Linked DNA regions of Homo sapiens: all the other regions are linked to region 1. Evidence: promoter capture Hi-C in human tissues and cell types (Jung and others, 2019). All regions are on one chromosome and are shown on one strand. The core of a region is centred on a gene start or on the middle of the fragment in contact, and the rest is flanking DNA. Distances in the headings are between cores, read along the strand shown.

Region 1 (3,530 bases), core at 304-2,803:
GGTGACTGCCTCAGGACTCCTCGGCCAGCCCTTGCCCCCCATCTCTGGCCTGAGGGCCCCAGGCCTCCATCCTCTCCCTCCATAGCCCAGCCTCTCCCCCTCTACCTCTGTCTTTAGAGGTGCCAGAACAAGCTGTAAAAAGATAAACGTGACCAAGTCACAGCCCTGCTTAAAAACCCTCTATGGCTCCCACTGCCCCTGATAAAGTCTATCCAAGGCTCTTCCCGATCTGGCTTCTGTTCCCTCACTCCCAGCCTTGCCACCTCATCTTCCCTCCCTTGCTTTTCCTTTGTCTCTAGCCCCAATGAACTCACATGCCAAGGCCTTTGCATGCCGCATTCCCTCGGCCTGGATGTCTTTTCCAGGCCTTCTCTCCTGGCATACACTCATTCAACTGGGCTGTCCCCACCTCCAGGAAGCCACACCAGATAGCAGTCCTCAGGGGCAGAATAGGCCTGAGGGGCCCGCAGAGGGTGTCCTTGGGGATTGTGTGATGTGTGTGTTGGTGAAGGGAGACCCTACAAGCATTTGTTGAGGGGCTTTGGGCCTCTGAGGAGCCACAGCCCCTTTTCATCTTCCTCTCAGTCTGGGAGGCCCAGGCCAGAGTGATCTGCACCCTAACTATACAAGGCCCTGGAATCCCCGTCCCACCCGCGGCAAGGGGCTGGAAGCCACAGGGCCTTAAACTCCCCAGGGTGACCCCCGACACTGAAGGCGATGGTCTCTGCTCTTCCCAGCAAGGCAGGGCCTCTTTACACTGGGTGTCGCGCCGTCTGAGTTCCTGACTTGTTTACCCATCCCGTTGGGGCTCCGGCCGCTGCAGGCTACCTGCTGTGCCCGGGATTGGGGACCTGTGACTCCCGAGTGGAAGAGATGGTGGCCCAGGAGGAGGACCCCGACCTATTCAGACTGGGAGCTGGGGTCAGAGTGTCTCCGTCTCCGGAGGGGGACCTTCCAGACCCCGGGCGGGAGGGGCCCACAGCAGGGTGCCCCGGCGGCCCCAGGAGGGGGTCCGGGCCTCGGGCGAAGGCTGCGGCGCCCCGGAAGGAGCCGCGCACGCCCCTGCACGCGGTGCCCGCTGCGGAGGCCACGGATCCGGAGGTGAGAGCGCCCCCGCCCCGCTCCCTGCCCAGCCCGCGCGCGGCCCGGTCCGGGGCTGGGGGCGGGCGCCAAGAGGGGCGCCGGGCGCAGTGGGGCGGCCCCCTCCCTTTTCCGCAGCGCGGGCCCCGCTCCTCCTCCCGCGTCCAGGCCCGCGGCCGCGCTCCCTGTCCCTCCGCAGCGGGATGCGGACTCCGAGCCCGGGCGGGGGCCGAGGGCCGAGGCCTGGCGGGCCTGGCGGGGGCCCCGGCGGGTGGCGGCGCAAGGGCCGGGACCGAGGCCGCGAGCGCGCCCCTCCCGGCGGCCGGGCGCGGAGAGGCGGGGAGGGCGGGCGTGGGGAGGCGGGCGGCGGCGGGCGGGGGGAGCCAAGGAGGCTCGGAGCCTCGCGGCGCGCGGGCGGGCGGCGGAGGGGGCGCGGGGAGCCCCCCGCCCCACGAAGGAGGAGTCTGGCTCCCACTTGCAGCCTCGGACGCGCGGCGAGGCGGCCGCCGCCGGAGGAGCCCCCGCCCCTGCGCGCCTCCCTCCCGGGAGCCCCTGCCTCCCTCGGTGCGCGCTGCTGCTCGCAGCCGCCGCGGCCGCCGAAGAGGAGCCCGGGGCCAGGTAGGACCGGAGGCGGGCGGGGCGCGGCGGGCGCGGGCGGGAGGCCGGGCGCGGGGCGCGGCCGGGACCCTCTCCAGGCGCTGGGCGACGCCCGCGGCGCTGCGCAGGGGCGCCCGCAAAGTTACTTTGGCCGCCTTTGCCGGGTGCGGGAAGCGGGCTGGGCACCCCAGCTGCCCCGCCTGCCTAGCGGGCGGCGGCGGGAGGGGGCTCCGCCAGGGCGCGGGACTCCGGCTGGGGCCGCGGGGTCAGCGAAACTTTTCCCTTGCTCGCCAGTCGCTGCTGCTGCTGGCGGAGTAGCTGGTGGAAGCAGCGGGCTGGTGGAGTGCCAGTGATGATGATAGTGGTAACAATAGCAGCCCCCGCTTGTAGAGAGCCTACTGTGTGCGCTGCCAAGCCCCTGCTGGCACTTGGGGGGGAAGAGATAGGGAACGAACGCTGGCCGAGTGGCCACTTTTGCTAGGTATTGCTGGAAACTTCATCCATTTCCTTCCATCCATTCATCCCTCCCTCCCATCCATCCATCCATCCATCCATCCATCCATCCACTCACTCAACACATATTTATTCCTGTCTGCTATGTGCTCGGCCAGGGGATTCAGTGGCTACCTAGACAGGTCCCAGCCCTCAAAGGGAATGTTGATCATGGAATGCCCAAACTAAGGAGCAGTTCTGTCTCCTGTGTGTTTGTTCTGGGACATGTTACGGGAGCGTGAATTCATGCTGTCTCCCTTCACCCTGGCAGGGCCAGAGGCGTGTCATTCAGAGCACTGATGTGCCCAGGAGTCTGGCAGGCCCCGGCCTGGCCTTCGGAACTCACCCTGCTCCTTTCCCTCCCACCTCTCCGGGCTCAAGCTGGGTGGCCCAGTTGGTGTCAGGAGGCTCCACTCCGGAACTGGCCCCCACCCCTGTCCAGCTGACCTCTCTGGGATGTCTCTTCCCCAGTGCTGGGCTGGCCTGGCTCCCAGCTCCCCTCCCAGAGTTTCTTTGCCTTCCCCCTCCCCATTTCCCCTGCTCTATTGAATGGCCCAGAGGAGAGCTTGTTAAGTGGCAAACAATTATGAAATTAAACTGGGGGAACAAAAGTGGGCTGGCTGTTGAATGGCGGAGCTGGCTCACGGGAGTTGAATGGCACTGGGAGACTTGTTAGCAGGGATCTGCGGCGCCGGGGGGCGGGGGCGGGTCAGGCAGACAGGCACTGTCAATAATCTGACTGGACTTTGCAAAAAAAAAAAAAAAATTAAACCAACTTGGTGAGAAACCTGGCACAGGGCGATGTTGGAGAGGCCACCAGCTGACTGCCACGTCCAGTCGGAAGCCAGATCTTGGTGTACAGGAGCCAGGGCTCTAAGAGACTATTTGGGGAGGGTGCTGATGGATTCGGCCGGGCTGAGGCAGGGGAGAACCTCAATGCGTTTGAGCTTGTGGTGCTAGGGAGGCATTCTGGAGCCAGGCGCAGTCTGCAGGGGCCCTCTGTGTGGGAACCACGCATGATAAACTGCGCTTCACCGTGCTGGGCTCCTTGCAAATTGGCTTTCTGAGTGGCAGCCCCACAACACTTGTAAAATCTTTTTCTGGAGATGGATTTCGGTGGAATGGTTCCATCGATTCTAGTGCTTGCTCACTGGAGGTACATTAATTGGGCGATGGCTAGTCAAAAGGCGATAATCCAGTCACGGAGGCTTAATCGTGTGTTCGGAAGTGTTTCAGTGTGGGACTGCCTTCCTATTTATTTCTCGGCCCCAGGAATTTCGGAAGACCTGGATTGAATGAGGTCCCTGTACTGGTGATGTGGATGGGTTCAGAGAGTCACCTACATGGCCGAGGAGGTACCT
Region 2 (3,530 bases), core at 567-3,066, 260 kb after region 1:
CCCCAAATCAGAAATCTGGGAATGACTTAAAACATTTCCTCTGCCTTATTCCCTTCTTTCTTTCTTTTTGAGACTGAGTCTTGCTCTGTCACCCAGGCTGGAGTGCAGTGGCACGATCTCAGCTCACTGCAAGTTCCACCTCCTGGGTTCCAGCAATTCTCCTGCCTCAGCCTCCTGAATAGCTGGGATTACAGGCGTGCGTGACCACACCTGGCTAATTTTCGTATTTTTAGTAGAGATGGGGTTTCGCCACGTTGGCTAGGCTGGTCTTGAACTCCTGACCTCACGTGATCCACCTGCCTTGGCCTCCCAAAGTTCTGGGATTACAGGCGTGAGCTACCACACCTAGCCTATTCCCTTATGTCTTATGTCCTATCCCTCATTTCCTATCCTCAACTCCTTATTTCTGAGTCCTTCTTGAATCTATTCTCCTGGCTCTCCCCATATGCTCATACAACAAAGGACCCTCCACGTCTTGTCTTGTTCTGGCTGGGGAGGGGAGAGGGTCTGGACTATTTCAGTAGCTACCTAATCCCATTTCTGTGCCTCTAGCCCTGCTCCGTCCTCCAGTCCATGCTCCTCCATGATGCTGCATTCTGGAGGCTTAGAAATAAGACCCATAAAAAGCCCATTCCAATGTCCGGCAGTGGGGCAGGCACCGGATGAAGGGGCCACTAATGTAATTATACTCTTCTTGGAAATATATTTTATTGCCTTCTTCTAAATTTGTCCACATGGACACTGCTACATATTAACTGAAATGCTTTCCTTAAAAATAGCTGAGGATGATTAGCTAGAGGGATCGTAATACGAATTTTAAGCAATCATTTAAATTAATTCCTGAGAAGTCTATGCAGAACCCTTCAAGCTGAGCCCTTTCTGGCAGAAACTCACCAGTTCCCATAAGCACATGCAAATCAGCACTCTGAGTTTCCCATATTTCACTGCCAGATTGTTTTTTTTTTTTTTTTTTTTTTTTCATTCTAGAGGAACAAACCATAGCTCTGTGATTGGAAACTCTCCACTGGCAGGCAGGGGCCGAGTGGCTTTGTACTCTCACCCGCAGGCTGCCCAATGATGCACAGTGCCAGGTATGCAGCAGATAGCCAAACCGCATCAATAAATGCTTCTGATATGTAAAAGCTTAAATATCAAAAGCTGGCCACATCCATATTGAAAGTATTCTCTAAGAAATGTGCCAATGACAATTTTTTGGCCAAAAAAAAAAATCCTTTTAAATTGTTGAAAGATGCCTAGAAATGGATCTGCTGCGTCCTGGGATAAGCCATTGTCCTTTAAAGTATGTTAGTATAAGAAAACAGCTGAACTTCTGCAGGATAGAAACAAAGAGAAACCCATTCTCCTACCTTCTTAAAGTCATGCACGTTAATTTTTCCATTAGGCTCCTTGCTGAAGTCAAGAAATCGTTTTTTGAATGCCGGGTCCTGCTGCTGTATACACTTTTTGAATTTTTCAATCACTTCTTCTGTGGTCATCTTCTTGGTCAGGGTGGTTTTATCCTCCGTGAGCTTGGTTCTAAAATCACAAGCAGGCATTTAGACCCAGTGTCAACTGACACACGCAGGGTGCTTCCTCCAGACTGCACCCATTTCCATGTAACCCATGACAGTAAGAAGGTTTCCCATCCTCGGTTCACTAGCTGGGAAGGGTGGAGTGACTCAGGGGCTTCTTACCCTCCCCTGGCTGGTAGGTTCCAGGGCCAGAACTGGAGGTCCCCAGCACAGTGTCCAAGTGAAAGCCCATGTACAGTGGCAGGCTGGGGACAGGGGAACTTGCAGGGAGAGAATATTATGGTCCTCGAGATTTTCAGTTATGCTTTGAGCTGGCCGAAGGTGGCATGTGACCGGGCACACAGGGTTGAAAAAGGATATTTTTTGTGAAGTGGAAAAATTAAAAGTCAGAGCCCATTAGAAAGCTTTAAATGAAAGAAATAGGCTGTTTTGTGGTAACTAGATCAAGGAAGTCATCAAACATCCACGGAAATGAAGGGAAGTCCACAGTTACTCCACAAATCGGCTTGATTTATAAAATACAAATTGAATGTGCTGTTCTGTGAGTCTCAGCGTGGATGTGTCTGAGCATGTGGGCGTGGGTGTTCGGAGGACAGCTATTTCCTCAGCTCTCTGGAAGTCTCTTGCGCCCCATATTTTTGGGGAAAAAACAGCCCTGAGACAGTCATGGAGAATGGACTTCTATTCCTTCCCCGCTGCGTCTCCTGATTTTTAAGAGCTCTCTGGGAAAGCTACATTTTATGAAATGTTTAATTGCCATTGCTTCTTTCACCAGTTTTAGGAAGCAAACATATCTTATCATGGAATATTTAACCCGTCTCTTAAAATACCATCTTTATGCCCATTTATAAAGCTGCTACTACTGAAAAGCCCAGGTATTCAAATTTAATTAGCATATCATTAAAATATTCCCATTGCTCTTTACTTAAGAACTTTTTAAAAGGGCTATGACAAAGTGAAGTCTGCTGAATAGTTCTACATTTTACCTTTCATTATGAATTTATTATAAGCAATGAATGAGCAAGTTAGAATAATATCTTTTCATTAAACTAAACCTGTATTTTTAAAATGAAGAAGAGCTAGAATATTCATCAGGCTAATTTTTTATAGATTTACTAAGTATGTTTTATTGTTACAATTCAATTTGGAAATCAGTTTAATCATTCTATCATTCATATTAAAAAATGTTAACTGATTTAATGGATGTGTGTTGCAATAAATATTAAATAGTGGCAAGGAATCTAAGTTTCTGGAAGAGAGTAAATGTGAATGCAGGTATGTAATAGAGAAGTTACAGATTGTCCCTGGGAGTCAGGAGTCCCAGATTCTTGACCCAGGCCAGCCACTAAGTTTGTGAGCCAAGTCCCCAAACCTCTCAGACATCAGTGTTTTCATTTCTAAATTTAAAAGGTAAATTCAATAATTCCTAAGATCTCTGCTTGCTCTAAAATTCCCTGACTCTAATTACTGTCTTTCTAGTGTGCCATCTTTCTTATTTATAAAATGAAATATTAAAATACTCAGTTGACAAATAGTTACTAAATACCTATTCCATGACAGACACTGTGGTTTTGATATGTGCATTCATTTTGCTTAATTTTACCTCTCAGAAAGATCTGGCTGCTGCTGTTCATCTTTTTGTAAATGTTCACTTAACAGCTGATCCTTTGGAACAAGAACTGGAGAGACAGTGGGTGGGCCATCAATTCCTATGCATGCCAAAAGTTTCTTGTAAAGGATTCTTCCTGAACCAATGTCCTGAATCTTACTGCAGAGTCTGAATTTTAAAAAATAATTAAAACACACTCAGTAGAGTAATTAAAACGGAAAAGACTGACCCTGCCAAGGGTTGGTGAAGATGAAAGTAACTACAACTTTCATCCACTGCTGGTGGGAATGTAAAATGGTACAACCACTCCATTCTTAGGCATTTACCAAAGAGAAATGAAAATGTGTGTCTACACAAATATATACAGCTTTATTTGTAACAGCCAAACA
Region 3 (3,530 bases), core at 658-3,157, 230 kb after region 1:
GTTTCTTAAATATATTATTCCCATAAAAACTAAAAGACTAGAATTGTGTTTAGATGGCACAGAATGACAAAATGCTGAACCTAAGTGCAAGCTTCAAAAACTGAGACTGAGTAATCTGAACCAGTTCTGCAAGTGACTGTGTTTTGTATTACTGTGAAAATAAGAAAATGTAGTTAATTGCAATTTAAAGAGTGTTCCACATAACTTCTTAATTTCTACATTCCCTCCCTTACTCTTCGGGGGTTTCCTTTCAATAAGCAACTTTTCCATGCTCTTAATGTATTCCTTTTTAGTAGGAATCCGGAAGTATTAGATTGAATGGAAAAGCACTTGCCATCTCTGTCTAGGGGTCACAAATTGAAATGGCTCCTGTATCACATACGGAGGTCTTGTGTATCTGTGGCAACAGGGAGTTTCCTTATTCACTCTTTATTTGCTGCTGTTTAAGTTGCCAACCTCCCTTCCCAATAAAAATTCACTTACACCTCCTGCCTTTGTAGTTCTGGTATTCACTTTACTATGTGATAGAAGTAGCATGTTGCTGCCAGAATACAAGCATTGCTTTTGGCAAATTAAAGTGCATGTCATTTCTTAATACACTAGAAAGAGGAAAAAAAGTACGCAAGTCCAAGTCTAAAACTTTAGTACTTTTCCATGCAGATTTGTGCACATGTGAGAGGGTGTCCAGTTTGTCTAGTGATTGTTATTTAGAGAGTTGGACCACTACTGTGTGTTGCTAATCATTGACTGTAGTCCCAAAAAAGCCTTGTGAAAATGTTATGCCCTATGTAACAGCAGAGTAACATAAAATAAAAGTACATTTTATAAACCATTTACTATGGCTTTGTAACAATTGCATACCCATATTTTAAGGGACAGGTGAATTTACTACTTTCTAAAGTTTATTGATACTTCCCTTTTATGTAAAATGTAGTAGTGATACGTATATTTCCGCATTGTGCATTGTGACACACTTGTCTAGGGATGCCTGGAAATGTATAAAATTGGACTGCATTTCTTAGAGTGTTTTACTATAGATCAGTCTCATGGGCCATCTCTTCCTCAGATGTAAATGATATCTGGTTAAGTGTTATATGGAATAAAGTGGACATTTTAAAACTAAAAAAAAAAACAAAAACAAAAACTGAGACTGAAAGATGAGGTGACATGACCACCTTTCAATGTCAAGGGGAATTCCAGGCATAACTAATGCATTGACCAGACATGTCCATTTTAGAAGCAAAGATCCAGAACCCAGCTTGGGTCTACATACACATGTAAAATCTCAGCGTGTTCTGCGGGCAGTGAATTTAGTACTTCAATGACAGATTTTGAACATGGCAGATAAAAGCAGACAAGTCGTGCCTACTTCAACTTCAGAGGAGACTGTGCTCAAGTCCTGGAGATCAAATCTGTCGTTCAAAGGGTAAGTGGGAAGAAACTCAAAGCTCAGGACAAATGGGCGCAACAGGAAAAGCCGATGCTAAGCAGCCACTTCCCCTGCAGAATCCCAGGGCTCTCTGTCACTCAGCCTCTGCACGCCTTTATGTTCTCTCTTGCTGATTTCAAGAGCAGATACATTTCCAACATATAAATGTAATGTAAGTCCAGTTATGATCCCAGTAATGCATCTGAGGGGTAATTGAATAAAATGATTTTAAAGTCTATATGGTAACATATAAACCTGGCCTGAGAATAGCCAAGAAAATACAAAAAGGAAGAACACTGAGAAAAGACCTGTTTTACTAAATTAAAGAGCCATATTGCATTTATATAGAAATAGATGTATAAATCAGTGGGATGAAAGTTTTCGGATGTAGACCCTAGCATAATGAGAATGTCATAAATGACAAAGGTAATAGTCTAATTCAGTAAGGAAATATAGAAGAAGAGCCCCATCTTACATCGAGTATAAAAATTAATTCCACATGGATTAAGCATCTACATTTAAAAATAAAAATAAATTCTCTGATAAAACAATGGGAAAGAGAAGTTCAGGCTAACTAAAATCAAAGAAATGCAAATTAAAGTAATGACTATAATTCTGACTGATATGTTAGCATATATTAAACTTTTTTATTCTACCCAAAGTTGGCAAACATTTGGAAATTAGTAACTACCAAACACTTGTGGTAGGAATGAATTTGATAGAATCGTTGGAAATGTAATATGGCAATATGCATTAAACATTTAACTGTGCATATTCTTTTGACCTAGACATTTCACTTGTTCTATAAGCAAGAAATTGTAATAATTTCAATGCATGTTCATAGACTGTAACAAATGTAGCATTCTGCTGAGAGGTGTTGTTAGTGGGGGAGGCTGTGCACGTGGGGACAGGGGTATACGGGAACTTTGTAGTTTCCACTAAATCTTGCTATAAACCTAAAGCTGCTCTAAAAACATTCTATACAAAAACAAATAAAATTCTTGTAAGAAAGTCTAGGAGACTGAGGTGGGGGTGGGGGTGGGGGATGAAGGAATAACACCTATTAACCATGGCTACAAACCTAGAATTTATTTAGGGAAAAAAAAGGACAATAGAAATATTTGGTTGTATAAAAACTGAAAACATTGTAATGGCAAAATATGGAACTATAACAAAACAAAAAGACATGATATATTTGGAAAATATATTTGTATTGAAGAAGACAAAGAGCGGATAAATTATTAATTAATTCTACAGATGTTTTGAGCATCTCTGACAGGTTCTATCCAGGAACTGGGAATACAATAGTGAACAAAACAGCCAAGTCCCAGCCCTCAGGTGCCAGGCCCTATTTTAAGGGTTATACATTGTTGTCGGTTGAATTGTGTACCCCAAAAGGTATAATGAGGTCTCAATCCTGGTTCCAGTGAATGTAACCTTTAATGGAGCTGGGGTCTTTTCAGTTGGAATCAAGTTAAGATGAAGTCGTGCTGGATGAGAGTAGTACCTCACCCAATGACTGGTGTCCTTAGAACAAGAGAGAAATTTGGACAGAGGCACACAGAGAGGAGAACATGATGTGAAGACATGCAGACAAAGAAGAAAGAGACCAAAGAGGCCATGTGGAGCCAGAGGCAGAGGTTGGAGCAACGCAGCTACAGGCCGAGGGATGCCGGATGGCAGGCAGCCATTGGGAGCTGGGAGAAACAATGCAGCGTGCTCCCAGAGCCAGCAGATGAGAGCATGGCTCTGCTGACACCTTGATTCCAAACTCCTGGCTTCGAGAACTGTGAAAAAATACATTTTTATTGTTTTAAGCTACCCAGGGTATGGTAATTTGTTATAACTGCCCTAGGAAACTATTAGTTTCCTAACCCTAACCCTATTAGGAAACTATTAGTTTCCTAAGGCTGTTGTAATAAATATATGTTGTAATAAATATATATTAACAAACATAAATATATATCATATGTATATGATATATATCCTCATTTAATCCTTCTAACAATCCAATGATGTAGCTACTACTATTATCTCCATTTTAGGAAAAAGGAAGCTGAGGCTGAGGGGTGTGCCCACACACAGGCACACAGTTATTAAG
Region 4 (3,530 bases), core at 714-3,213, 220 kb after region 1:
GCCAATGCCTGTTTCCCACATGCACCTGCTTCCCGGGTCTCAGGCCTGAAAAGTTGATGTGGCCCCAACCCGCCTCGTTCCATCGGCACCTGATGCAGCCCCTCACCTAGGAGTTACCTGGCTGCTCTGGCGGCATTGCGCTTGTCCCCTCTTGTTACAGGCTCCTCCCACAGAGGTTACTTAGGATATCAAGCAAGACCTGCTGTGACTCAAGTTCCTCATGCAAGTGTGTGGGGATTTTGTGGAAAGCTCTCTCTGTATTCACTCATGTATTCATTCACCAAAAATTATTCAGTACCTAATATGTGCAATCGCCATGCTAAATACTGTGGAAATGAATTTAAAAGATGCCGCCCCTGCCTCCGGAAGACAATACAGTGTGGCAGGGAGGCTGATGTCTAACTCTGCCCGAGGGGGCCTCCTGGGGTGCAGGCCCATCTGTTTCTTGATGATTCCCTCTATACTCTCAGCCCCAAGCCGCCACCCCCCTGACCCACAGCCTCACATCTCCAGTGGTCTGGGGGCATTTTCTCTGGGATGTCAAACTGAACATGGCCCAAATCAAACTCCTGACCTCCACCCCCTGTCCCCACCCTACTCCTCCTAAGTCTTCCCATCTCAGTAAGTGGAGCTCTTTCCTCCTGGTTGCTCAGACACAAACCTGGGAGCCCTTCTGAGCCCTCGCTTCCTCTCACACCCACATCCAGTCTGCCCACACATCCCGCTGGCTCTCCCTTCAGAGTGCATTAGCACTGGACCCCCTCTCCCAGGCACACCACCTCGGCCCCCACCCAAGGTCGCTGGAGTCCTGCAGGAACCTCGTGATGGCTCCCAGCTGCCATCGTCGGCTCCGTGGCCTCTGCTCTGTGCAATCGCTCCCGAGCGATCCCTTACAGCTGACGTCATGCATGAGGCGCCTCTGCTCAACCCCCTTGACTCTCCTTCTCACTCAGAGTCCAAGGCCAAGGCCTGGCCGTGGCCCACAAGCCTGTCTACACCCCCATCCCACCCGTCCCCTCACTGTTCTCTGAACAGGCCGAGCCTGCTTCAGGGTATCGCAGGGAGCCCTCTCCAGTGTCCGCAGGGCTCACTCTGGCTCCTTCATGACTGTGTCTGAGTGTCCCCTCTCCAGAGAGGCACTTCCTGACTCCTCTGTACAATGGCACCAGCCCTGACTGGCCTCCCACGATCCTCTACTTTTCTCTTTGGCACATGTCACCACCTGATCTAGTAGAGGTTTCTGTGTCCACTGCACTTCCCCCTAGAACATAAGCATGAGTCTGGGCTCTGATCTGTTCCCTGTTGCAGCTCCAGCTCTCCGAGCCATGCTCACCATAACGTCTGTGAGATGGGGCTGCTGGACATGAAGGAGCAGCATTTCCTAGGCACAAAGCACTCTGCTGGGTACACAGACACCATAACTGCAACGTGGGCCCTGACACCCAGGTCCTCACTGTCTATCTACTAGGGAAGCAAGACAGGAAGCAAATCATGGCAATCCAGCGTGATTACTGCAGGGACAGAGGTGTGAGGGCCAGGTGGGGCCAGCCTGGATTCTGGACTCCAGGGACAAGCTAGATGCTATGAGATCATACATGGCTAATCTTCACAAGTTTATAAACTAATCATTCCTCAAATCTCAGTCTTCAGCTTCCCCAATGTTAGTGCGTAGTACAGAGGCTTTGGAATCGAGCCGGTGTTATTTCAGTTCCTGACGGTGCCATGTACTAGAGGTGTGGCTTTGTGTCACTTTTTCCCCGTCTCTGACCCTCAGGGTATCCAGCATAACACGGGAACATTAAACCTACTTGACAGGGTGGTTGCGGGTGTCAGAACACACAAGGCCCTGTGTGTGGCCCTCCAGTTCGCTGCCCAGCATCAGGTGTGGTGTGTTCAATCAGCAAATACAAATCGGTCATGTGCATTGTGGCAGGCACTGTGGCAGCCCCTTGGGTTACTGTGGTGAATGATGTAGAAATGGCTCGGGGCTCACTGTTGAATCTAACTGCAGCACCCTGCGGGCTGTGTGCTATGAGGGACGTGAGGAGAGAGGGGAATGTGCAGTGGCAACCTCTCAGCTGATGTGAAGGGCTTGAGAAGGACAGAAGCTTGGGGAGGAGTCCACTGGTCAAAGGGGAGGCGCCATCCAAGCAAAGGAACAGAATGTGCAAACGCTTAGAGGCAGGAAAGGGTGAGGGGGTGAGGGGTCTTGTGGGCCGGCCAGGCGGGAGCAGGATGTATCCTGAGAGCACAGTGGGCACTCCGGTCAGAGATGCACATGGATGAGACAATCCTGCGAGGGCCAGGAGTCCAAGACGAATTGTGAAGTGCAAAGTGAAGTTGCAGAGAACTGAGTGTACTGTGACCCTATTTGTGGGTTGACAGGTTAATCCTATTTGTTTCTAAAAGATATATGAGGCCAGGGACAGTGGCTCATGCCTGTAATCCCAGCACTTTGGGAGGCTGAGGTCGGAGGATCGCTTGAGCCCAGGAGTCTGAGACCAGCCTGGGCAACGTAGCAAGACTTCGTCTCTACCAAAAAAATTCAAAAAAAGTGACTGTACCATCCCATTAAAAAATTGAGACCCGTGCTTTGTCCACTTTGCGTATACCTGCAAGGACACAAGCCAAGTCCTCACGAGCCCCGGACATAACCCGCATCCAGTCTGTCTCACATAAAAACTGGCAATTAGGGGTTCACTCCTCTGTTTCACCCACTAGTTGATAAATTCTCTGGCGGGATAGAGTGGGTGTCGGTGATGGTCTGTTGAATGAATTCATTATTTAAAATAGAGATCTCTTTGGAAAACACAGGATATACGTTGGCTGTAGCCAAGCTTCACTGATCGTAAAGATAGGAAAGCAACGATGTAGCGTGGAGCTGGGCTTCCCACGGCCTCCACTGGGAGACGCGAGGAGTGTGTGAGGAAGAGAGGAGAGAGTCTGAGAGAGGGAACAGGGAGGGGCCTGCATTGCAATGGGCAAGGTGCAGTGAGGCAGCTGCCAGGCCTCTACAGTTAGGGTGCCCGTGGAGGCCCTGCCGACCAGCACAGAAGGGAGTCTGCTCCTGGAGCCTTTGCCTCCGTTCTGCTCTCTCTCCCTGCAGCGGCCGCTGCCTCCCACCCAGCTCGGCTCTCCTTTGGAGGACCAGGCACTCCCCACTTAAATGACCCCTGCCTCCTCCACGCTGGAGCCCACAGGCCAGTGGTTCCCAGAGTGCTCCTCTTGGCTGGCCACTTAGCCTGGATGAGATCATTAGGACCAATCCGTCTCCATGTATGCATATGGCGATCATATTTTTTCAAACCAAAAATTAGGATGCACATTCTGAAAACTGGACAGAATGTTCAAAATCTGAGCCCTGCTAGAAAGTCTAAGCTGGACTGATGTCATAAATACACGGGCATGTGGAAACGGGAGCCTGGTAACCAAAATGAATCTCCAGGGGTGATCAGTCTGGGGAGGTGCCTCAGAGCACAGGAAATGGGGTGTTGCCCTCCCCACAGCCCCCCAGGCTGCTCTGATACCCA
Region 5 (3,530 bases), core at 499-2,998, 200 kb after region 1:
AAATTCATATGGGACTAGGCGTGGTGGCTCACACCTATAATCCCAGAACCTTGGGAGGCTGAGGTAGGCAGATCGCTTGAGCCCAGGAGTTCAAGACAAGTCTGGGAAACATGGCGAAACCCTATCTCCACAAAAAATACCAAAAATTAGCTGAGTGTGGTGGCACATGTCTGTGGTCCCAGCTATTTGGGAGGCTGAGGTGGGAGAATGGCTTGAGCCTGGTAGGCTGAGGTTACAGTGAGCCAAGATCACACCACTGCACTCCAGCCTGGGTGACAGAGTGAGACCCTGTCTCAAAATAAAATAAAATAAAATAAAATTCATATGGAACCAAAAAGAGTCTAAATAGCCAAGGCAATCCTAAGCAAAATGAATAAAGCTAGAGGCATCAAGTTACCCAATTAAAGTATACTACAGGACTACAGTAACCAAACAGTATGGTACTGGTACAAAAACAGACACATAGACCAGTGGAATAGAATAGAGAGCCCAGAAATAAGACTGCACACCTACAACCATCTGATCTTCAACAAAGCTGACAAAACCCAGCAATGGAGAAAGGATTCCCCTATTCAATAAATGGTGCTGGGATAACTGGCTAACCATATGCAGAAGATTGAAACTGGGCCCCTTCCTTATAACAAATACCCCTTCCTTATAACAGAAAATAAACTCAAGATGAATAAAAGACTTAAACGTCAAACTAAAAACTATAAAAACCCTGGAAGACAACCTAAGCAATACCATTCTGGACATAGGAACTGAGAAATATTTCATGACGAAAGAAAAAATTGACAAATGGGATCTAATTAGATTTGACAGCTTCTGCACAGCAAAACTATCAATAAAGAGACAACCTACAGAATGTGAGGAAAATTTGCAAACTATGCATCTAACAAAGGTCTAACATCCAGCATCTATACGGAACTTAAACAACCCCATTGAAAAGTGGGCAAAGGACATGAACAGATACTTTTCAAAAGAAGAAATACATGTGGCCAACAATCATATGAAAAAAAGCTCATCAGTGATCACTAGAGAAATGCAAATCAAAACCACAATGAGATACCATCTCACACCAGTCAGAATGGCTATCACTAAAAAGTCGGCCAGGTGTGGTGGCTCACACCTGTAATTCCAGCACTTTGGGAGGCCAAGGCGGGTGGATCCCCTGAGGTCAGGAGTTCGAGACCAGCCTGGCCAACATGATGAAACCCTGTCTCTACTAAAAATACAAAAAAATTAGCCAGGCATGGTGGCATGCACCTGTAGTCCGAGCTACTCAGGAGGCTGAGGCATGAGGATCACTTTAACCTGGGCGGCGGAGGTTGCAGTGAGCCTAGATCATGCCACTGCACTCCAGCCTGGCAGACAGAGTGAGACTCCATCTCAATTAAAAAAAAAAAAAAAGTAAAAAAAAACAGATGCTGTAAAGTTGCAGAGAAAAGGGAACGCTTATATACTGTTGGTGGGAGTGTAAATTAGTCCAACCATTGTGGAAAGCAGTGTGGCAATTCCTCAAAGAGCTAAAAACAGAACTACCATTCGACCCAGCAATCCCATTACTGGGTATATGCCCAAAGAAATATAAATCATTCTAAATATATAAATATAAATATATTTATATAACATAAATATATAAATATCATATATAAATATTTTATATAATTTATTTATATAACATATATATTAATATATTTGTTATAGAAATATATTTGTTACATAAATATATTCATATCATATATTTATACAGCAAATATATTCATATCATATATTTATATAACACAAATATAAAGATACATGCACGGGTATGTTCACTGCAGCACTATTCATGATAGTGAAGACATGGAATCAACCTAAATGCCCATGAACGGTAGACTGGATAAAGAAACTGTGGAATATATACATCATAGAATACTACAAAGTCATACAAAAGAATAAGATCATGTCCTTTGCAGGAACATGAATGGAGCTGGAGGCTAACATCCTTTGAAAATTAATGCAGGAACAGAAAACCAAATTCTGCATGTTCTCACTTACAAGTGGGAGCTAAATGATGAGAACACATGGACACAAAGAAGGGAACAACAGGCACTGAGACCTACTTGAGGGTGGAGGGGGAAAGGAGGGGGAGGATTTGGAAAGATAACTATTGGGTATTAAGCTTAGTACCTGGGTGACGAAATAATCTGTATAACAAACCGCCACGGCATGAATTTACTTATATAATAAACCTGCACACATATCCCTGAACCTAAAATAAAAGTTAAAGAAAACTACAATACCATTTACATTAGCACCCCCCAAAATGAAATATTTAGGTATAAATCTAATAAAATATTAGCCAGGAATGGTGGTATGCACCTGTTATCCCAGCTACTTGGGAGGCTGAGGTAGGAGGACCACTTGAAGCCAGGAATTCCAAACCAGCCTGGTCTTATTTGCAAGAGCTCTTATATGCAAGAGCTATATAATGAAAACTACAAAACTCTGACGAGAAATGTTTAATGTTTGCAAAACCTAAATAGAGACATTCCATGTTTATGGATAGGAAGGCTCAATAGCATCAAATATAGGTTCAATTCAATCCAAATCACAATCCCAGCAAATTGTTTGGTAGAGATCCATAAACTTATTCTAGATGCAAAGACTCAGAATAGCCAACACAATACTGCAAAAAAAAAAAAAAAAGAACAAACTTGGAGAACTGACACTACCTGATGGCCAAGATTTACTATAAGGCTACAGTAATCATGACAGTAGTACTGGTTAAAGAAAAGACAAGTAGACCAATGGAACACAATAGAGAGTCCAGAAACAGACCCACATAATCAACATACCCTTGACAAAGGGGCAAAGGCAACTCAACAAAGCAAAGACAGTCTTTTCAATAAATGGTGCTGGAACAACTGGACATCCACCTTTAAATAAATGAATCTAGACACACAGACCTTATACCCTCCACAAAAATTAACTCAAATGGATCACAAACCTAATTATAAAATACAAAACTATGAAACTCTCGTAAGACGGCATAAGAGAAAATTTAGATGACCTTGAGTTTGGCAGTGACTTGTTAGATACAATCCATGAAAGGTTCTAGTCCCGACCCTTTCCTTACCCTGAACCTAGAGGGCTGCTCTGAAAGTGGGCCACACAGAGCTCCAGTCTGTGGGATTGGTTGGTGTGGGCCAGCGCAGACAGTCCACTCCATAGAGTACACAATACAGACAGTTGACTCTATGGAGTTCACAGCACAGACAGTCCACTTTATGCAGCCCACAGCACAGACAGTCCACTCTATAGAGTCCACAGTGCAGCAAGTCCTGTCTGTGGAGTCCACAGCACAGACAGTCTGCTTTATGGAGTCCACAGCACAGACAGTCCACTCTATGGAGTCCACAGCACAGACAGTCCACTCTATGGAGTCCACAGCACAGACAGTCCACTCTATGGAGTCCACAGCACAGACAGTCCACTCTGTGCAGGACAGGAGGTTGGGTAGAGACAGTCCCTGGAGGTTAGCAGGA
Region 6 (3,530 bases), core at 326-2,825, 190 kb before region 1:
CCCTACTTACTGCTTCCTGGACACCTCCTCCTCTCTCTGACCTCTGTGCCTTTGCCTATTCTATTCCCTCTGCCTGAATGCCATTCCTTGCCACCTTTTCCACCCAGTGAGCTTTGATTCTAAGCTCTCATTCAAATGGCACCTCTTCTGGGAAAGCTTCCTGATATGGTTTCAATATTTGTCTCTTCCAAACCTCATGTTGAAATCTGATCCCTAATGCTGGGGGTGGGGCCTGGTGGGAGGTGTCTGGGTCATGGGGTAGGTCCCTCATGAATGGCCTGGTGTGGTAGTCAGTTCTTGCTGGCTCTACTAGTCGCCACGAGATGTGACTGGTGAAGACATAGGCACCCCCTCCCCTCTCTCTTGCTCCCTTACTCTTGCTATGTGATGCCAGCTGCTCTTCACCTTCCTCCGTGAGCAGAAGCAGCCTAAGGCCTCGCCAGGCAGATGCTGCTGCCGTGTTCTCGGACAGCCTGCAGAGCCGAGAGCCAATAAGCTCTTTTCCTGATAAATTATGCAGCCTCAGGTGTTCCTTTTAGCAACGCAAATAGACTAAAACATTTCCTTTTTTTTTTTTTGAGATAGAGTCTCACTCGTCGCCAGGCTGGAGCACAGTGGCGCGATCTCAGCTCACTGCAATCTCTGCCTCCCAGGTTCAAGCGATTCTCCTGCCTCAGCCTCCTGAGTAGCTGGGATTACAGGTGCCTGCCACCACACCTGGCTAATTTTTGTATTTTTAGTAGAGACAGGGTTTCACCATGTTGGCCAGGCTGGTCTTGAACTCCTGAACTCAAGTGATCCACCCACTTTGGCCCTCCCAGACTGCTGGGATTACAGGCGTGAGCCAGTGTGCCCAGCCAGACTAAGACATTTCCTAAGCCCTCCCGTGGGGGGCAGACCTCAGTTCTATGCATTGTTTGTTCTTGTGCCCCCACCACCGAGAGTCCCACCTGGCAATGGGTGGTTTGCACGTGCGTCTGCCTCTCTGGCTGAGAGTGTTACCTGGGTGGGGACTTTTCTTTCCACAGCGCCCAAGCCCACAGCCAGGCCCATACCACACTTATCTGCTGACAGATCCCATCTCTTCAACATCAACGACTCACAGGTTGACACTCACATATAGCCAAGAGCAAAGTGCTGCTGTGACACCCGAGCCAGCATTAGAACCTCCTTCAGGAACCAGGAAAGACAATCCTTGGCTCAACCATTCTAGGGGGGCTGCACCTATTTGTCCTCCCGGGTCCCAGCAGGAGTGTGGAGGGGCAGATAAGGGTCATGTGACTTTTGAGGTCACCTCGGCTCTTCTGTCTCATTGCCCTGGGCTGCCTCTTCTATCCTGGGCTGCAAGCGTTGACCCCTGCCAGCTCCCTTTGCTTGTGGGCCTGCCTCTGTCTCCAGAAGCTGGGCTCCCATCCCAGCCACAGCTGTGCTCTGGTGGGAGCCTAGCTTCATGCCTGGCAGGCCCCCGGCAGCGCCACCAGCCTGTCGTCCTCCTTCAGGCCTGCAGAAGCCCCCAGGAGAACCCCTCACCTACCTGAGGCCTCTTCCATCTTTGTCTCGATCTCAAACTCTGCTGTGATGTGGGACACCTCCTTGGATGGGGACTTGCGGCCACGGCGCCTCTTCTTGGAGGAGTCACACTTGAGGGTCACGAAAGTCACATGGCAGTGGTCTGGACGAGGAAAGGACCACTGTGGCAAAGGCGGCATGGGGCAGGGAGCAAGGTCCTACCAAGCCCTGCATACAGAGTGCCATTGGCAAGGACTTCCTGGTCCGTGGTGCAGACGGAAAAACTCAGGCTAGAGAAGGTCAGGGCTGGCTCGGGGTCTCAGGAGGGGCTGGTGGCTGAGCCAGGTCTCACGCCCGGTCCATCACGCTGCTGCAGGTGGAGGCATCTCATACATATTCATGAATGAGGCTGTGCCCCCAGCTCTGGGCCTGCTGAGGGTTTGGCCAGTGCAGACTCGGCTCTGGGCAGAGCCTGCTGCGTGCTGAGAGCTCTGTTAGGTTTGAGAAGGAATCTTCACGGGGACAGAGCTGGTGCCTTCCTCCGGGGCCCCTCGTACCAAGCTTGCCCTCCGCTGTTTCCCCAGCCTGCAATGTCCTTGGAAACTCTCATTCAATAAACAGCTGCCAGGTGAGAGAGACCTCCACCCTTGGAAACCAGACTCGCTGGACCCTGGGGCCCCAGCTCCCAGGCATGAGGACTCTCCTACAGCCCCGTTGGTGTGGGTTAGGAGCAGGGCGTCCCACTCACCCAGCAGCGGCTGCCTGGCGGTCTCCTTTGCTCGTGCCTGGCTGTGGGGCCGGAGGTGGCACTTGGCATCTCGGATCTTGAAGCGGGCCTTCTGTTTGATGGGGGTGGTGGGGGCATCTGGGGAAAGCCAAAATTCCCCCAGGTGGTGGCCTCTCCTGCAGGCAAGGAGGTGGTGGGGGACGGGGGCTGCCAGGGGACAAATCCATCTGGAGCTGGGGGTGGGGCTTGATCTGAGTCCCTGTGCCCCGACAGCTCTCCTGGGGTGGGGGACCCTCTCCTGCCCCATTTCTCTCCCTGCAAGGCCTAAAACAGGTGAACACATGGATGGTGGGGTCAAGCTCAAGCCCAGGGGCCACCCGCCAGAGGTCTTCTGAGAAGGAGGACAGGGATCCTCCTACCTCCTCCCCATCAGCAAGCCATGATTGTGCTTTAGGAAAGAGCGTAGAACAGAAGAGAGATAGGACAGCAAGGAAGGGAAGGGGCTTTGAAATACTATAGATCCAGGACTGCCGGTTCCTTGCAAGAGCAAATCATAGCCCTTGGACTAAAGAATCCTACCACCACAGGTGCTTAGAATCAAATCACATATGCATTAAATATATAGAAATGGGCAGGGTGCGGTGGCTCACGCCTGTAATCCTAGCACTCTGGGAGGCCGAGGCAGGCGGATCACTTGAGGTCAGGAGTTCCAGACTAGCCTGACCAACATGGTGAAACCATGTCTCTACTAAAAATACAAAAATTAGCCAGGTGTGGTGATGGGCACCTGTAATCCCAGCTACTCAGGAGGCTGAGGCAGGAGAATTGCTTGAACCTGGGAGGCGGAGGTTGCAGTGAGCCGAGATCACGCCACTGCACTCCAGCCTGGGTGACAGAGCGAGACTCCGTTTTAAAAATAATAATAATAATAATAAAGAAACATACAGAAATGCACCTATCTATCAAATCCAGCATCCTGAATAAGAAAAGCTGCTGAAGACACAACCCTCAGCTCCTTAGCTGGCAGGAGCTAAGGCTGGCTGTGCCATGCCGACCAAGCCCAGCGGGTCACTCCCAAAGGGCTGGGACTGTGCTGCACCTCGGCGCTTCTTGGCATGCTCTGCACGGCCAGGCCAGCTCTGACTCGGGAGAACCTAATAGCCACAGCAGATGTGGCTTGCTCCACCCATACAGTCTGAGATCTGTGCACTCACAGCACGTTAGAGTCCCTGAACCACTCTGGCTGTGACCTCAGAGCCGGAAGGGCCCTCCCACGGTCCCCTGACCCTGGGCT
Region 7 (3,530 bases), core at 639-3,138, 160 kb before region 1:
GGAGCCCAGTCCCTGGAGCTCAGTGGGCAGGGAGGCCACGACTTGAGAGGGGCTTGCCCCCGCTTTCCTTCAGCCAGGCCACCTGATGAGCACTGGGCCTGGGGAGCGGCCCTGTGATATCACCTCCCTCACCAGCACTCAGACCTGCCTGAGTCCCTTCCCACTTCCAAGCACGTCCAGGCTGCAGGGCCTGCCCTCTCTCTGAGCTGGATACCTGCCTGCCTGGGCACTGAGGCCCCATCCATCCCCGGGCACCTCCTCCAGGAAGCCTTCATTCATGTGCTGAGCCAACTAGCCTCACCCATGCTCCCGCTCTGGGCAAGGCCCTGTGCTGTGCCCTGAGGGGGGGCACCAAGCTGGAAAAGACCTAGCTTCTGCCCCCAGTCAGGGGGTGCTGGTGGAGGAAGGGTGAGTGGTGGGACAGGGGAGGAAGGACAAGCAAAAGGCAGCCTTTGTCAGGTAGAACCACCCAAGATGGCACCTGGGTAGAGAGAAGAGGATGTGACCCCTGGAGGCAGGGAGTCCAGGAAAGGCTGAGCATGCAGGGCCAGAGGAACAGGCAGAGGGTGGCTTCCAGGAGTGGGTGAATGTGCGGGGTGGGGACTGGGACATAGATTGGTGAAATCAGGGACACCCGGGACCCTGGAGATGGTCGCTGCAGAAGAGGAGGTACGGGCGGGGTGGAGGGGAGCTGGGGTGGACGGGAGCTGGGGTGGAGGGGAGCTAGCGGGGAGAAGCAGGAATGCACATGTCCCGATGAGAAGTGACATTGGCCATGCCGCTCAGGGTGGCTGTGCACTTAAATGATGCTGGGGACAGTGTGGGACACAGTGTGTGCCCCCTAAGTGTCAGCCACCATTTCCACAGTGGCCTCCACTCTCCTCGGTCTTCCCTGGCCTCCCAGTTCTCCAGCCTCCCTGCCTGCTTTTCTCAGGATGAGCAGCCCCTTACCAAGCTCTGGCCTGTGTGCTGGGCCCTTCCATCCTTTCTTTCCCTTCCAGCTCCTTTGAGCCTGGCAGGGTGAAGCAGGTCATGGCCATTTGGGGGACGGGAAACCCGGGGCTCAGAGGGGTGAGGCTGTAGCCCCGTGAGCTGCAGTGGGAAAGCTCCTCTCTTCTCCCCCTGCCAGCAGGACAGTGGGCCCTGAGTGCAGCCACGCGGCCCAGAGGGCTTGGCTGGGGGTGGCCAGGACATAGATGGCGGGATGGCTGGGGAGACAGGTCTAGGGGCAGAAGGGCGGGGAAAAGCCAGGGGAAGCCTGGGACTCCACCTGGCCCTGCCTGCTCACCTGCAGATCTGTCCCTGGCGGCTTCCCTTTCTGGTGCTTTGCACCTCAGTGCCCCAACTGCGTCACACAGCTGATGCACAGTGAGTGCTTCCTACGTGCCTGGCACCGCGCTAAGCACCTGCTACTTAGTCACTCATTTCATCCTCAAATCGATAGGAAGTACACGCTATCACGATCACCATTTTACAGCTGAGGAAACAGGCTGAGGGAAGTTAAAAAATTCGCCTGAGCAAGCAAAGCTTCCAGGGAGTGGACAGAACTGGTACCCAGGCCTTGCTCCATGACCGAAGCTTTTCCCTCTCCTCTGGACGCCTGGGGGCTCCTGCAGGTCTAGGGCCCTGTCTCCCGGGAGATGCCCAGGCAGTGTCTGCTGATCAAGGGAGTCACAGATGCTGCGACTGCTCCCAGGCTTTGTCTGGCACTGGCCTGGGGAAAACTTATGAAGATGGCTCTAATAGTACGGAGGGACAGGGAAGGCTCAGGGGGCCCTGTCCCTGCTGGAACCCAAGGTCCCCTCAGGCCAGGCACTGCTTCTTGGGCAGTGTTCCTCTTTGCTCTGACCTCCATAAGCATCGCCAAGCACTCACTCCTGGCCAGATCCAGAGAGGAGGCAGAGAAGGTTGGGCCTATATCGGACAAGGTGGAGCAGTTCAGGCAGCCAGGCAGGAGCAGCCTCAGGGGTGCGGGGAGAGGAGTTCCCAGCTGCCTTTCTGTGCCCCCATGTCGTCATCTCTAAAACACTCGCACTGCTCTCAGGGTGGCTGTGAGGTTGAGGTAAACACGGGGCAGAGTGCAAGGCCCAGAGGGAGCTCAGGCTGAGGGCCGACTCAGATTGGGGTCCCTAGCCTGCAGCTCAGGCCCCACTGCTCTCATGGGGGTGGTGGGACCCCTGGAATGGGCTGGCTGTGAGTTCTGCTGATGTCGTGCCCACAGGAGGAACATCACAGCCAGAAATGCTACTGGGCCTGCAGAACCGCGTCCCTCAGGCCTGTTCTGCTCCTAACCTGGGGCCCCGGACTTGGGAGTCCACAGGGCTGGGACTTTGGCCCAGGCTTTGCTCACTGGCTATGTGGCCTCCCTTCTCAGGGCCTCAGGGTCTTCATCTGTGAAGTGGGGATAGCTGCCTCCCAGGGCTGTGGGGGAGACTCACTGGAAAGCTGCCTGGAAAGTCCCTTGCAAACTCTAGAGGGGTTGAGCAGTACTGGTGAGGCGAGAGAGCCGGGGCAGAGGGAATGGGCTGAAGATACACCCCCAAGGCTGCCTGAGGAAGAGTGGGTGCCCACAGCTGGGGCAGCCAGCGGAGGCTCCGTGAAGTGGGTGGGGTGCATCCCACATCTTCAGGACTGGTTTCAGAGGAGGCTCATGGTCCTGGGGCTCAGCCAGTGAAAAGGGCAGGTGTGGGCTCTGCCCTAACGGAGGGTTCCTTCAGCCCAAGCAGAACCATCTGTTTTAGGCAGAATAATGCCCCCTTAAAATGCCCACATCCTAATCCCCAGAAACTGTGACCCTACCTGGCAGAAGGGCCTCTGCAGATGTGCTGAAGGACCATGAGACGGGAAATTATCCTGGATTATCTGGAGGGGCCCAGCGTGATCACAGGGGTCCTTGAGAGTAACCGAGGGAGGCAGCAGAGGTGGGTCAGAAACAGAGCTGTGAGGACTGGGGCGGGTCAGGCTGCTGGCTCTGCAGGTGGAGAAGGGACCGCGGGACAAGGAACGTGGGCAGCTCTAGAAGCTGGAAAGGCAAGGAAGGGGATGCACCCCTGGAGCCTCCAGAAGGAAACAGCCCTGCCGACATCTTCAATTTAGCCCAGTGAGCCCCAGGTCAAATTTCTGACCTACAGAAGATAATAAACGTGCGTCGTCTTAAGCAACTGAGATTGCGGGAATCTGTTAGCAGCAGCAAGAGGAGCGGAATGCTCCACCTATCCTAAGCATGCTCCAGGGAGAGGGGCTTGATTGAAGACCTGGAGCTGACCAGCGTGGCGCGTAGCACCCCATCAGCCTTGCCACAAGCAGGGTCCCGGGGCCTGAGGTAAGCTCCCATGCAGCACCCCACGCTGGGTCCTCAGAGGTTTCATGTAAGTCTCCCAGATAATTGAAATTTATCACTTTAACCTGCAAATCCGACAATTTTAACTGATTGTAATGGGAGTCTACAATTGGTTACATGTTCTGGGGCCTCTTTAAAGTAAACATACTTACTCCGTTCTTCACCTGTGCTCAGGGACTGGGGTGACTAT

Evidence for each region. The method cuts DNA at HindIII sites, captures the fragments that hold promoters and counts their contacts. A contact is called where the count stands out against the background at its distance.
Region 2: a fragment that was not itself captured here is called in contact with the fragment with the promoter of MPPED1 in region 1 in 4 of the 25 tissues and cell types used here (IMR-90 fibroblasts, dorsolateral prefrontal cortex, lymphoblastoid cells and 1 more).
Region 3: a contact is called between a fragment that was not itself captured here and the fragment with the promoter of MPPED1 in region 1, in 2 of the 25 tissues and cell types used here (dorsolateral prefrontal cortex and lymphoblastoid cells).
Region 4: a contact is called between a fragment that was not itself captured here and the fragment with the promoter of MPPED1 in region 1, in 3 of the 25 tissues and cell types used here (H1 embryonic stem cells, dorsolateral prefrontal cortex and lymphoblastoid cells).
Region 5: a contact is called between a fragment that was not itself captured here and the fragment with the promoter of MPPED1 in region 1, in 5 of the 25 tissues and cell types used here (liver, neural progenitor cells, pancreas and 2 more).
Region 6: a fragment that was not itself captured here is called in contact with the fragment with the promoter of MPPED1 in region 1 in 4 of the 25 tissues and cell types used here (H1 embryonic stem cells, dorsolateral prefrontal cortex, liver and 1 more).
Region 7: a contact is called between a fragment that was not itself captured here and the fragment with the promoter of MPPED1 in region 1, in 5 of the 25 tissues and cell types used here (H1 embryonic stem cells, IMR-90 fibroblasts, bladder and 2 more).

What each region holds. Positions count from the first base shown.
Region 1 is chr22:43,410,461-43,413,990 of GRCh38, forward strand. MPPED1 (metallophosphoesterase domain containing 1) reads left to right here and starts at 1,554. Exons shown (of 7, transcript NM_001044370.2): 1 at 1,554-1,698. The HindIII fragment of the contact is 18,974 bases long and covers 1-3,530 here.
Region 2 is chr22:43,665,737-43,669,266 of GRCh38, forward strand. It overlaps EFCAB6 (EF-hand calcium binding domain 6), which reads right to left. Exons shown (of 32, transcript NM_022785.4): 16 at 3,136-3,309; 17 at 1,368-1,536. Among named protein-coding and RNA genes, the nearest start is that of EFCAB6, 140 kb to the right of the region's middle. The HindIII fragment of the contact is 4,657 bases long and covers 1-3,530 here.
Region 3 is chr22:43,644,732-43,648,261 of GRCh38, forward strand. All of the region lies in intron 17 of EFCAB6 (EF-hand calcium binding domain 6), which reads right to left. It also overlaps the pseudogene YWHAQP2. Among named protein-coding and RNA genes, the nearest start is that of EFCAB6-AS1, 130 kb to the left of the region's middle. The HindIII fragment of the contact is 5,358 bases long and covers 1-3,530 here.
Region 4 is chr22:43,627,600-43,631,129 of GRCh38, forward strand. The region is part of intron 19 of EFCAB6 (EF-hand calcium binding domain 6); the gene reads right to left. Among named protein-coding and RNA genes, the nearest start is that of EFCAB6-AS1, 110 kb to the left of the region's middle. The HindIII fragment of the contact is 3,448 bases long and covers 240-3,530 here.
Region 5 is chr22:43,611,503-43,615,032 of GRCh38, forward strand. All of the region lies in intron 21 of EFCAB6 (EF-hand calcium binding domain 6), which reads right to left. Among named protein-coding and RNA genes, the nearest start is that of EFCAB6-AS1, 97 kb to the left of the region's middle. The HindIII fragment of the contact is 4,342 bases long and covers 1-3,530 here.
Region 6 is chr22:43,218,916-43,222,445 of GRCh38, forward strand. SCUBE1 (signal peptide, CUB domain and EGF like domain containing 1) reads right to left here. Exons shown (of 22, transcript NM_173050.5): 13 at 2,258-2,374; 14 at 1,535-1,672. Among named protein-coding and RNA genes, the nearest start is that of SCUBE1-AS2, 8.0 kb to the left of the region's middle. RefSeq lists an enhancer at 1,332-1,833. The HindIII fragment of the contact is 3,980 bases long and covers 1-3,530 here.
Region 7 is chr22:43,248,628-43,252,157 of GRCh38, forward strand. All of the region lies in intron 6 of SCUBE1 (signal peptide, CUB domain and EGF like domain containing 1), which reads right to left. Among named protein-coding and RNA genes, the nearest start is that of SCUBE1-AS1, 26 kb to the right of the region's middle. RefSeq lists a silencer at 2,928-3,116. The HindIII fragment of the contact is 6,663 bases long and covers 1-3,530 here.